Regions from separate parts of the Homo sapiens genome. Here region 1 is linked to region 2. The links are contacts of gene promoters, found by promoter capture Hi-C in human tissues and cell types (Jung and others, 2019). All regions are on one chromosome and are shown on one strand. Each heading gives the region's core, a stretch centred on a gene start or on the middle of the fragment in contact. The rest is flanking DNA. Distances are from core to core; before and after follow the strand shown.

Region 1 (7,234 bases), core at 4,597-7,096, 810 kb before region 2:
AATGAAATTTTACCAAACATTGCATGATACATGACTATATAAGACATATGTATAAGACATATATTGATGAGAAATGGTCAAAAGTATGAATAAAATAAATAAGATTTTTAAAATGAAGATATACTGTTATCCAAAAGAGATAAGGTGGTTTTGCTATAACCTTCTAGACTTTTTCTCTTGGAAACAAGTTATATACATGTACATATAAATAACATTATAAAATAGACATATATTATATGTGCCAGTCTTTCTATAAGGTGCTTTTTCTCTCAAAAATATTCATGATCTCTTCTCTGTTAACAAATATGTTAATATATTCCTTCCTAATAAATGCCTAGTATTAAATCATTTGGCATATACTTGTAAATGTTTTAATACCTTATTGTTATTTATACCTTTGGTCTAACAAATGACCAAATGTTATAATTTGGTTTCCAATTTTTCTCTATTTTAAATATAATTATATTCCTCTGATATAATATATGATGTAATTTTAATTATGTTATAATTATTACTGTAGGAAACATCTTTGTACACACAACCAGGCCCTCCTGTGGGCATATTTTGATGATGTAATTTCCTCTGAGTAGCTATGTCAAAAGTTATGCACTTTCAAAATTCAGGTGTTTGATATTTTGCCTTCAGCCAATATGGAGTTACAAGTTTTGATTGTATCCTCCTGCCTAAAGTAATCGAAAACAATAAACAAAACATATAAGACATTTAATTTATTTATTTATTTATTTATTTATTTATTGAGACAGAGTCTCACTCTGTCACCCAGGCTGAAGTGTAGTGGTGTGATCTCGGCTCACTGCAACCTCTGCCTCCCAAGTTCAAGCGATCCTCCTGCCTCAGCCTTCTGAGTAGCTGGGATTACTGGTGTGCACCACCATACCTGGCTAATTTTTGTATTTTTAGTAGAGACTGGGTTTCACCATGTTGGTCAGGCTGGTCTCGAACTCCTGACTTCATGATCTACCTGCCTCAGCCTCCCAAAGTGCTGGGATTACAGGCGTAAGCCACTGCACCTGGCCAAAACAATCATTTAAAATAAACTGAACAGGGGGCAATAAAGGACCGTGATCTCTGAGAGAGGACAGAAAAGATTCTACATTTGCCCCCATTTATTACCTTGGGAGAGTATCCAGGCCCTGGCACAGGGAGGAAAAACTCAATATTCATGAGCACTGAGTACAGTACACAAATGGTGTATTAGTCCCTTCTCAGACTGCTATAACTAACTACCTGAAACTGGGTAATTTATGAAGAAAAAAAGGTTTAATTTACTCACAGTTTCACAGGCTTAACAGGAAGAATTACTAGGAAAGCTCAGGAAACGTAGAATCATGGCAGAAGGTGAAGAGGAGGCAAGTATGTCTTACCATGGTGAAGCAAGAAAGAGAGAGAGGGGGAAGTGGCACACACTCTTAAACCATCAGATCTCATAAGAACTCACTACCAAGAGAACAGCAAAGGGGAGGCTGCCCCCATGATGGAATCACCTCCCACCAGGTCCCTCCCCCAACAATTACAATTGAATTGTAATTAACAGTTACAATTCAACAATTGCAATTGTTGAATTACAATTCAACATGAGATTTGGGTGGGGACCCAGACCCAAACCAAATCATTCTACCCGTGGCCCCTCCCCAATCTCATGTGCTTCTCACATTTTAAAACACAATCATGGCTTCCCAACAGTCTTCTCAAGTCTTAAGTCATTCCAGCATTAACTCAAAAGTCCAAGGCCAAAGTCTCATCTGAGACAAGGAAAGTCCCTTCCACCTGTGAGACTGTAAAATCAAAACAAGTTAGTTACTTCCAAGATACAATGAGGATACAGTTATGGGCAATGGATAAAAGCTCCCATTCCAAATAGGAGAAATTGGCAGAAACAAAGGGGCTACAGGCCCCATGCAAGTCCAAAACCCAGCAGCTCTATCAGTAAATCTTAAGCCTCCAAAATAATCTCCTTTGACTCCATTTCTCATTGACATCCAGGGCTCAATGATGCAAGGGGTGGGCTCCCAAGGCCTTGAGCAGCTCTGCTCCTGTGGCTTTGCAGGGAAAGCAGCCTCTGTGTCTGCTTTCACAGGCTAGTGTTGAGTACCTGTGGCTTCTCCAGGCACACAGTGAGAGCTGTCAGTGGGTCTACCATTCTGGGGTCTGGAGGACGGTGGCTCTTTTCTCACAGCTCCACTAGCTAGTGCCCCAGAGGTGACTCTGTGTGGGGGCTCCAACCCCACATTTTCCCTCTGCACTGCCCTGTTAGAGGTTCTCCATGAGGACTCTGACCCTGCAGCAGACTTCTGACTAGACATCCAGTCATTTTCATACATCCTCTGAAATCTAGGTGGGGGTTCCCAAACCTCAGCTCTTGCCTTCTGCACACCTGCAGGCCCAACACCACATTGAAGATGCCGAGGATTACAGCTTTCACTCCCTGAAGCAATAGCCCAAGCTGTACCATGACCACTTTTAGCCACAGCTGGAGCTGGATCTTCTGGGATACAGGGTGCTATGTTCCAATGCTGCACAGAGCAGCTGGGCCCTGGGCCTGGCCCATGAAACCATTTTACCTTCTTAGGTCTCCAGGCCTGTGATGGGAGGGGCTGATGTGAAGGTTTCTGAAGTGCCCTGGAGAGAATTTTTTTTTGGCTTGGCTATTAACATTTGGCTCCTCATTACTTATGCAAATTTCTTTAGCCAACTTGAATTTCTCTCCAGAAAATGAGTTTTTATTTTCTACTACATGGTCAAGCTGCAAATTTTCCAAACTTTTATGCTCTGCTTACCTTTTAAATATAAGTTCCAGTTTTATAACTCTTTTTGTTCATGCATATGAGCACACACTTTCAGAAACAGCCAGATCACATCTCAAATGCTTTGCTGCTTAGAAATTTCTTCTGCGAGATACCTCAATCATCTCTCTTAAGGTCAAAGTTCCACAGATCTCTAGGGCAGGGGCAAAATGCTACCAGTCTCTTTACGAAAGCATGGCAAGAGTGACCTTTACTCCACTTCCCAAGATGTTTATCATCTCCATCAGAGACCACCTCAGCCTGGACTTCATTGTCCATATTACTATTAGCAATTTGGTCAAAACCATTCAACAAGTGTCTAGGAAGTTCCAAACTTTCCCACCTCTTGCTGTCTTCTAAGTCCTCCAAACTGTTCCAACCTCTGCCCATTACCCAGTTCCAAAGTTGCTTCTACATTTTCAGGTATCTTTATAGCAGTGCCCCATTCCCAATACCAATTTTCTGTATTAATCCATTCTCACACTGCTATAAAGAGCTACCCGAGACTGGACAATTTACGAGGAAAAGAGGTTTAATTGACTTGGAGTTCTGCAGGCTTAACAGCAAGCACGACTGGGAGGCCTCAGGAAACTTACATTTACGGCAGAAGGCAAAGGGGAAGCAAACACTTTATACCATGGCAGAGCAGGAGAGAGGGAGAGCAAGGAGGAATTGCTACACACTTTTAAACCATCAGATTTCCTGATAACTCACTCACTATCATGAGAACAGCAAGGGGGAAATCGTCCCCATGATCCAATCACCTCTCAACATGTCCCTCCCCCAGCACTGGATATTACAATTCAACATGGTATTTGGGTGGTGACACAGACCCAAACCATATCAAATGGCCTTGCCTCAGGAGTGGCAAATAATTGGCTCACATCTTAGCCCTGCTCCAGTCCCCTGTACCCCATCTCAAAAGTAAAACCTGAAAGGATAATACTGCTTCCAAGGAAATTAACTGCATTCTAAAACAAAGTTTAAGAATATTTATGGAAGTATAAAATTATCCACTACCTAAATAGGTAAAATTCACAAAGTCTGGCATTCAATAGGAATTATCAAGCATTATGAAAATGGAGGAAAATATGACCTACAAAGAGAAAAATCAATCAATCAATTAACTGAAATGGACCCATAACTCACACAGATGTAAAAACTGGCAGATATGGACATTAAAAGTGTTATTCAATCTGTATTGCAAACAGAGCAAAATTAGCACTTGGGCATCCCTGAGAGTGAGTGCCTTCTTAAATTTTGGAACCTAGATGATATGTCTCATCCTTCATTTTAGTCCTGGTCTGATTTCAGATAATTGAAAGTTAAATAGTGGTATGAAACATGTAAATAAAAATATAAAAATAAAAGAACCTCAATTCAAAGCTTTAGAAATGGAAATTACAATGGTGAGATGAAAAAATACATTAAATGAGATTAATAAAAAATTGCACATTACAGAAGAAAAGATTAGCTATCTTGAAATCATAATAATAGAAATTACCCAAAAGGAAATAATTTAAAGAAAAACATAAAAACAAATCTGTGAGTGATGGGATAATTCAAGAGCCTCAATATATATAGAGTCTACAAAGAAAAATGAAGAGTGGAGGACAGTAAAAATCTTTGAGGAAATAATGGTTTAAACACTTCTAAATTTGATGAAAATTATAAATTTATATATGAAAGAAGCTTAGCCCCAAGCATAAAATCATAAAGTAAACTACACCAAAACACAAAACTAAATTTCTCCAAACTAATGATAAAGAGAAAATCTGGAAAGAGGCCAAAGAAAAAGACACATCATGCATAGAACAAAGATGATAACAGAACATTTCCTGTAGGAAACAATATAGGTAAGGAGACAGTGGAAGAACATTTTAAAGGACTGAAATTTAAAAAAAGAAGACCACCTAAAATCCTACATTCAGGAAATATTTCTATAAGAAATAAAGGCAAAATTAATACATTTTCTAACATACAAAAGCTGAAAGAACTTATTACATGTAGTCCCACACACTACAAGAAATTCTAAAGGAAGTCCTTCAGGCAGAAGGAAAATGATGTCAGAGGAAAATCTGGATCAACATAATGAAAGAGCCCCAGAAACAGTAATTATAAGAAATTGTGGATGGTCTGAGATTTTACCCTGCCTGCAAGTTAAGAAGTTAACCTTCCACAGTTTCATGAGTGCTGGCAGAAGATTCAGAGTTCCTAGATCAGAGACAAATAATTTTATAAGTCATAACACAGCAAACAGTATGAGCTTCATGTTCATGCTGAGTCTTTTTACCTCCCATGTCCCATGGGGTGAAGTAAGCTGACCTAGATGGATTATATACATTGATCCTTGTGTCACAACTAAAAGACCCTGAATATAGTAAAATGCACATTTCTATATATAATGAAATGTAAGCAAATCTGTCTAAACTTTGCCAGAATGGAAGGCATCATCTTCAGCATAAGAGACAACAAAATCTTTTGTCCTCTGTCCCAGAAGTAGACACTATCTTAATCATTCTAGGCTATTCACTACACAAATATCCCAGGAAATAAAACCTGAAACAAAAGCTGTCAGTGTCTTTGCTCACAAGATCTCCAAAAACTTGTCAAACACATTAAGAATTGTCTCACAAAGTAACTGCAAGAGTAAATACACAGGGTTTTTTTTTCTAATTATTGAAATGTCTTCATGAGACTATAGACTGTTTAAACAACAACAACAAAGTTGGAGATTAAAATATATCTAAATTGTAATGCAAAAATAGCACAAAGCTCAGGAGGGAAGCAATTAAAATAGATGGCAAAATTCTTATACCATGCAGAGGGTGTTTTAATGTCACTTGAAAGGAGAATGGATTACCATAAAAACGAACAGTATAAACCCTAGAGCAACTGATAAAATAACAAAATAGAGAGTTGTACCTAATAGGCCAACAAATGAGATAAAATAGAGTCAGAAAGATTTAATCATTAATTTTATTCAATTAAAGCAGAAAAAGAGAAATAGGAGAACATAAACAAATGGAAAAACGGAAAGCCCATGGTAAGATGAGAGATTCAAGTCTAGCAATTTAATCATATTAAATATAAATGGTCTAAATACCAACTAAAAGTTAAAGTTTAAAAAGTAAGACCCAATTATAAGCTGACTACAAGTAACATGCTTCAAATACAAAGACACAATTAATTAAAAGGATGGCAAAAGGCTGGGTGCAGTGGCTCATGCCTGTAATACCAACACATTGGGAAATGGGAAGATTGCTTGAGGCCAGGAGTTCAAGACCAGCCTGAACAATATAATCAGGCCCTGTCTCTACAAAAAATTAAACCTTATTAGCCATACCCAGTGATGCATGCCTCTAGTCCTAGAGGCAGGAGGCTGCAGTGAGCTCTGATTGTGCCACTGTACTTCAGTCTGGGCATTAGAGTAAGACCTTATGTCAAAAAAAAAAAAAAAGAAAGAAAGAAAGAAAAAAAACCTGAAATATATACCATGCGAACAAACATCAAATGAGTTCTGGAGAAGTATGTTACTATAAGACAAAGCATATTTGAGAGCAAAGAATACTTCCAGGGATAATAAAATTATTTCATAATAACAAAGGAGTCTTTCACCGTGATCAAGCGGAATCTTTCCCAAGGGTGTAAGGATGGTTCAATACATGAACAGAATGAAGGCCAAAAAAATACAATCATATCAACACATGTAAAAAGGTATTTTATAAAATTCAAAATTATCTTATGATAAAAACTCTCAACAAACTAGATATAAAAGGAACATAACTCAACATAATAAAGGCCATATATGACAAACAGCTAATATCATTCTGAATGGGAAATGCTGAAAGCTTTTTCTCTAATAACTGGAACAAGACAAAGATGTCAGTTTTCTCCACACTTATTCAACCTAGTACTGAAAGTTCTATCCAGAGCAATTAGGATAAAAAGGAAATAAAGGGCATCCAAATTGAAAAGAAAGAAGTTAAATTGTTCCTGTTTGCAGATAGCAGTATGTTATATATAAAAAACCCTGAAACCTCCACCAAAAACTTTCAGAACTGATTTAAAAATTTGGGAGGCCGAGGTGGGCAGATCACCTGAGGTCAGGAGTTCGAGACTAGCCTGACCAACATGGTGAAATCCTGTCTCTACTAAAAAGACAAAATTAGCCAGGTGTGGTGGTTCATGCCTGTAATCCCAGCTATTCAGGAGGCTGAGACAGAAGAATCTCTTGAACCTGGGAGGCAGAGATTGCAGTGAGCTGAGATTGTGCCATTGCACCCCAGCCTGGGCAACAAGAGTGAAACTCCTTCTAAAAAAAAAAAAAAAATCAGTAAAATTGCCAGATACAAAATGAATATATAAAAAGTTAGCAGGATTTCCATGTACTAACAAGAAGCTGTTAGAAAAAGAAATCAAGAAAGCAG
Region 2 (6,612 bases), core at 1,864-4,363:
GTTTGGTTCTAAGCACTTTGCATGAGACACCAAATTTACAAACTTAGCACAACTAAGGGAATCTAGAGGCAGTGTGCATTTAAAGATCTCATATTTGTTTATAAAAAAGAGATAATATTTAGCATTGATTTTAAGGGTTTCTCTTTTAATCCTTACAATAACCCCATGAGCTTACTGCTAATGTATAGATCAATTTCCATGTCCTGTAAGTTTTCCCTGAATTGCACAGATTAAGAAACTCAGTAACTTTCCCTCAGGTGTCATAGTTTATGAAATAAAATAAGCTATGTGTGGAACGTAAATGTATTAATAAGATTCAAAAATAAGTGTTCATACCAAATAAAGACAGAAAATTGGCTAGTGAAACACGTAATGAACATTCAACACTCCAAATCACAAATGCAAAAGACACCAACATTTCCTGTAATAATACATGAAAGCATCATTTTTGCTTTTTGTTTTTTCAGTATCCCTGGCATTGTGAATTTATACTTTACATAAGCAATGACATTATGAATACTATATTTATACCTGAGGAAGCCTAGAACTTAAATATTTGCAAATACATCAGATGAACATATGGTTGCCAGTTGTTACTGCTATCTCATTTTCTTTCTGTAAGAAGATGGATTAGTGAATTATAGTAATAAAAAAGCAAGCATGCTTAAGTTAAAGCCTTTGCCTATGATTTAGATAGTTTCTTATAATACATTGGTGTATGAAAGGAAATCAAATTATTTAACTGACTAGATTTTCTATTCATACACAACTATTTCCAGTAAGCACTCCCACAAACTGTTTATATAGTATTAGTTAGAGGATATAATGAAAGAGCAATAAAACAAACTTCTTTATCACTGCACTTAATAAACACCTGAAGTTCCCCAATGCGAACTTTCAGTTATAAATAATTGACTGTATCCACATTTTTCTGAAATCTGATAGACTGTGTCACCTTGCACTTAGCCTATAATGGCACTTAGTTTTTCCTAATTCTTCTCTATGCTTCAAATTTTTAAAAAATCAGTTCTGTTTAACCTTGTGAAGATGCAAACTGGTGATAGAATGGATTTTCTACGCTTTTAAGTAGATAAAAAAGGACATTCTTAATTATTCCAGGTATGTGTTTTACCTCAATCATTCCTTATGCCCTGTATGTCCTGAGAGCAAGGCCCATTCAGCCAAGAAGATATTATTTGAAGTCTTTTGTACATAAGTAAATTGTTTTCTGAAGTCAAATCCCAAAGGGCTTTGCAAAATTTCATTTAGTCAGGTGGGCCAAGAGCAACTACTACTTTCTGTAAGTTCCAATAATCTTTCTGGCCCTATGGGGGCATTTACTCTATGAATTATGCCTAAATACCCTAAGGAAATTGAAACGAGTAATTTCTTTATTTCGCTAGTATTGGTTCAGACCACTCATTATATTAATTCTAAAAATCCTCCTTGGAGGCAGGTTAAGTGGCAGCCTCATTAGTAATGCTGCCCAGACAAGGACAAGAGGCTCTGTGGCCTGCCCAGGGACTGACTGTCAGGCGGCTGGCATCCAACTCCTGACCATGGGCCCATCCATTGGTCCTGAACACCCTAGCCACTGAAACCGCTTTTTAATTGGCTTAAATGGGCTTGTTTATTTTCCACTTTTCTGTTTATTGAAGTAGAAGTGGAAACTGGCCTTCAAAGACCAGTCTATCAGCATCTCCTTCCTTGGCTCGCCTGACCTTCAGGCAGTGCAGCTGCCTGAACTGAGTTAAAAATGGACTGTCAAGCTGGCTTTAATTTCTGCTGCTCTGCGTCCGAATGTCCTCCCACTGATCTGTTTATCACACCCTCTATACCCCTTCTGTTGTTGTTTTTCTAAGAGTTTTATGCCAGGACAGCTGAAACTGCCTTTCAAGGTTCTAACCTGCAAATCCTTCTACACATAATCCTAGAGGGCCTGGGAGCCAACACTGGGATCTCTACTGTAGGAACAACCTTCTCCCTCCAGGCATCCCCTAACGCACCCCAAGCTGACTCTCTGAACAGATCATCTCCTACTGGCACACCAAAGCGAGAAAACCGTGGCTTAATAACTTTGGAAGAAAAAAATCAGGTTTGGCTTCTTGCTCATGGGCTATGCGGGCATGTTGCCTCTTTCCAGGGCTCCTCTGCCTCTCTGTGTGTTCCTGTGCAGGACCGCACGGAGCCCTCACAGGGATTATCTGCTGATCCCCAGCAGAATATAAAACTCTTTATCTTCAGTCTCTGAAACCTCTTCAAAATATCCCAAACCAAAGATCCTCCCAACAGGGCTCGCCAGAAACTTCTGCCTCCGGAAATGACAGTTGCTCTCGATGCACGGATAGAGGAGTACCTAAGATCCTACTAATGGTATTGTGTGTTTCTTGGCAAACTCCCGCTCAATTCAAGCTCCCCGCGCTCTGGGGCAAGGTCTAATTAGAAGAGTGCCAGGCTCACCCTTCCTGCGAAGAAAACGCATTAGCCACAGATGTAAGTGCACGAAGAATGCCAGGGAGCCACGGAGTGCGTGGGGTCATTAAGGCCCTTCTTAAAATGCTGGCGAGCCTTCGATGCGGGAAAGGAAAACTAGATCTGACCGCTTGCAGCAGAGGAGGATACAGAAACCCTGGGAGGCAGAGTAGAGTTGACTGGGTTAGAGGCCAGAAATAAGTGCATAAATGATGCTCAGTGGACGTTGCAACAGATTTAAGCCAAGTGTTCAGGATGACACAGCAAAGCCCCAGGACAAGGAAATGCACAGATCGCTTAAAGCTTCCCGCTGCCGGGAGCAGCCTGAGTGTGAAAGCGCGGACGCTCGGGGAGGGGTCGCACTGAACAATCAGGTTCAGGCTTTGACGAGTCGTGCACCCGGAATTGCGGTCCCAGTGGCCCGAGATCTACCCTGGAAGCAACAGGTGTCCGCTCTACCACAGGCTTATCCTCAACTCCCTGTGGCTAGGCTCGGGCTCCCTGGAAGTGTAGAGGTTGAAAGGGGACCAGACTCTGGAGGGGAGGGGCGGGGCGCTGGCCGGGGAGGGGCGGTGCAGGTGGGCGGGCCTGAGCAGGGTGGGGACTGGACCTATAAAGTTCTCGCTGCCCCGGAGGCTATGCTACTGCGAGGAGCCGGCGCAGGGTGGCCCGGGAGGGGTGAGCAGGGTGCCGCTGGCTGCTGGGGTCTGCAGGTCACCGAGTCCCCAGGAGAGGGGACTCCTAAGAAGCCACCTGCCTGTGTTTACCCGGCAGCGAGCGCGCAGGCCCCCGCGAACTCCTGGCAGGTGAGCGAAGCTGCGGCCTTGGTGGGGGCAGCGGGGCCGGGGGGCGCTCCGCGGGGCAGGTCGCTTCCAAGTTTTGCGAACTGTTGAGTTAGTTTCAGGTTGCGGCTCCGCTCCCAGGGCTTTGTCAAATTGAGTTGCAGAGGCCGGTTCCACCCCTTTGGCAAAGGAGTTCCTCCGCTAGTTCGCTCCCGGGACGCCGGGCATTTTAGGAGCCTCTGCACGACTCGCCTGCTTTTGCAAATCCGTCTCTTCTCGCCTCATTTTTTCCAGCGCTCAGGAAAGGCCGTTGCGCCTCGCGAAGGAAACAGAGCCGTTGACCATGGTTGCAACTGGCAGTTTGAGCAGCAAGAACCCGGCCAGCATTTCAGAATTGCTGGACTGTGGCTATCACCCAGAGAGCCTGCTAAGTGGTGAGTGTCCCCGCTGTCCACCCTTCTCCCCTCCCAAGGTCGGTGCCTCTGGATCTATTGGGTGGGCGGGCTTTCGACTTCCTCCCCTACCTCTATGTAGGAGGTGCCACAAAATCCATCTGAGGAGACTCCTTTCCAAATTTTCTAACATCTTCTCTCCATGATAGAAACAAAAGTAGCAAAAGTAGAATACCCGAGGGCTGCATCTTTCTAGTCTGGTGCCAGTAGGCCCCTTGGGATTAAGTTCCTTATCTTACATGATTGTGAAGAACACAGTTATGTGTGTTTTAGCAAATGTATTTACCCTGTAATCAATATCGCCCCTCCCCCTGAATTCCGACGCACCTATTTGCCAGGTATTCCTCACTCTCCCCTGACTCCAGGGAACTACTGATCTGATTTTTATCATTCCAAGTTAGTTTTGCCTTTAGGTAAGTGGAACCATACAGTAGGTATTCTTTTGTGTCTGGTTTCTTTCCCGCAGCCTAATGTTTTTGAGATTCTTTTATGTCCGTTGCTTAAATCAGTGTGTTCGTGTTTATTGTTTATTACTGAGTAGGATTTTCAGTCGTGGATATATCCATTATTCCATTTTTAATGTGAGAAGGAAACTGTTGAACAGCAGCGGTGCTTGACTTGCTGTCATTTGGAATTTTAACAGCAGTTTCTAGGTGAACACACTGCTCTGACACTAAAGAGCTGTAAGAGCATAGATAAACTGCTTAAGCTCTTCGTGTTTTTCTCCTTTCAAGGTGAAGTGGTTGATGACCTAATTTACAGGCCAGAACTCCAAACTTACACGAAGTGGAGAGGAAAAGCCAGTGGCTGATGAAGGTGGAGTAGGCTTAGAGAGAGGAGCTGGGAGGGCATCTGCCTGCACCTTGTTCATTTGACTCCGTGTGGTGTGGCATCCTGCCAAGGGGTAGGATTAATTTGAGGTGTAGGTGACCAAATGCAGAGCTATCTCTTTTCCTTTGAGCCCAGCTAATTTTATTTCCCTAGGACTATTTTGTTTTGCTTGGCTAAGAAAAACCACCCAGCCGGTTACAAATATCCTCATGAACCTCAAAGGTCTTCTCTGCACAATTTTTAATTAAAGAGGCTAAAGCTAAAATTGGGACCTACAGGCCACTCCAGTAAAGACTTAAAGACACAAATTTGATAGATCTTTAATATAACTCTTAAAGCTTTAATACAACTCTTCAAACATAATAGTAAAAATTCTTTATTTTACAATACATGTATTCCTACAGTTAGAAAGTAACAACCCCTTAGTCCAAAAAACAAAGTTATAACTTTTTATTCCAGAAGTAATGCATGTTTTCTGTAAAACAAAATTAGAAAACCCCCATAAGCAAGTAGGAGAAAAGAAAAGAAAATCACCAATAATCTGGGATAATCACAAGTAGATTTTTGATGCATAGTCTTCACGGTTGTGTGTGTGTTTTGTGTACACACATAAATTTAAAGAAAAGTGGTTACATCCTATCTACTCTATTTATCTAAACCTTTATTTCATACATGAACTTTCATTCATGAGAGCTTAAATTATTCGCTATATTACCTAGCTAGTTAACAGTTAATTGAGGTCAGCTGACTCTGAAACAAATACAAGAAAAAGGCAGACATGGTAGATAGAGGTAACCAATGTTGATATCTTGGTGTTTTTTTTCTACTCTTAAATTTTTTCTTCTGTATCTAAAAAGAAAACTCCATTTCTTACAGATTTTGACTACTGGGATTATGTTGTTCCTGAACCCAACCTCAACGAGGTAATATTTGAGGAATCAACTTGCCAGAATTTGGTTAAAATGCTGGAGAACTGTCTGTCCAAATCAAAGCAAACTAAACTTGGTTGCTCAAAGGTCCTTGTCCCTGAGAAACTGACCCAGAGAATTGCTCAAGATGTCCTGCGGCTTTCCTCAACGGAGCCCTGCGGCTTGCGAGGTTGTGTTATGCACGTGAACTTGGAAATTGAAAATGTATGTAAAAAGCTGGATAGGATTGTGTGTGATTCTAGCGTCGTACCTACTTTTGAGCTTACACTTGTGTTTAAGCAGGAGAACTGCTCATGGACTAGCTTCAGGGACTTTTTCTTTAGTAGAGGTCGCTTCTCCTCTGGTTTCAGGAGAACTCTGATCCTCAGCTCAGGATTTCGACTTGTTAAGAAAAAACTTTACTCACTGATTGGAACAACAGTGATTGAAGGGTCCTAAAAAGGGAAAATATATAAAGATTATTTCATGATTGGGTAGTAAAACTATTCAGCTAGTCAGCTAAAGTCATTTGTAGTTTGCCCCACCTGCCCTAAATAAGAAACCCCAAATGTAGTCTCTTTTCTTTCTGTGTTTCACATTCATAGCAACTGCAGCTAACAGGCTGATTTTCTGGCCTTTGGAGAAGTGATTCAAAATAGTGTAGATTTTCTGCATAGATCCCATTTTTGTACAGAATTGAATGGGATGGAATAGGTAAGCAAAAGTAGAAGCCCATTTGAGTTTTACATTTGATTCCACAATTTGGTTTCAGGTAGGCTTGGTAATAGACTATATAAACCAGATTTGCCTATTTTGATTTTCATATGGCTTTTTTTTCTGTAAGTTTTCAGAGGATTTTTTAAATCACAGAATCATACTAAATGATATTTAGCCTATCAAAACTTCCAAAAGCCCACACCACCAGTTCCTGACTCAAATTTGAAGGGTTTTTAGACAGGAGGGTAGGATTAAGTAGGTGAGTTTAATTAAAGCTTAACCCTAGGTAAGAGTAAATGAGAAATATTACGGCAATAATGGAACTGCTTCACTGTTTCTTGGTGACTTCCTCACTCTAATGTTTTAAAGAGGCAACAAAAGCTTGTGGTGCCATTTCAGTAACCACGGTGTTGTTTTAGATGCCTTTATAAGCTCAGTTTCCCCTGTTCT

Evidence for each region. The method cuts DNA at HindIII sites, captures the fragments that hold promoters and counts their contacts. A contact is called where the count stands out against the background at its distance.
Region 1: a fragment that was not itself captured here is called in contact with the fragment with the promoter of DDIT4L in region 2 in 1 of the 25 tissues and cell types used here (hippocampus).

The regions. Positions count from the first base shown.
Region 1 is chr4:101,000,997-101,008,230 of GRCh38, reverse strand. No RefSeq gene overlaps it. Among named protein-coding and RNA genes, the nearest start is that of LINC01218, 120 kb to the right of the region's middle. The HindIII fragment of the contact is 3,006 bases long and covers 4,344-7,234 here.
Region 2 is chr4:100,186,969-100,193,580 of GRCh38, reverse strand. It overlaps DDIT4L (DNA damage inducible transcript 4 like), which reads left to right and starts at 3,113. Exons shown (of 3, transcript NM_145244.4): 1 at 3,113-3,278; 2 at 3,549-3,688; 3 at 5,414-6,612. The coding sequence starts at 3,598. The coding sequence ends at 5,904. It overlaps DDIT4L-AS1 (DDIT4L antisense RNA 1), which reads right to left and starts at 3,548. Exons shown (of 5, transcript NR_125924.1): 1 at 3,507-3,548; 2 at 532-615. The HindIII fragment of the contact is 5,141 bases long and covers 516-5,656 here.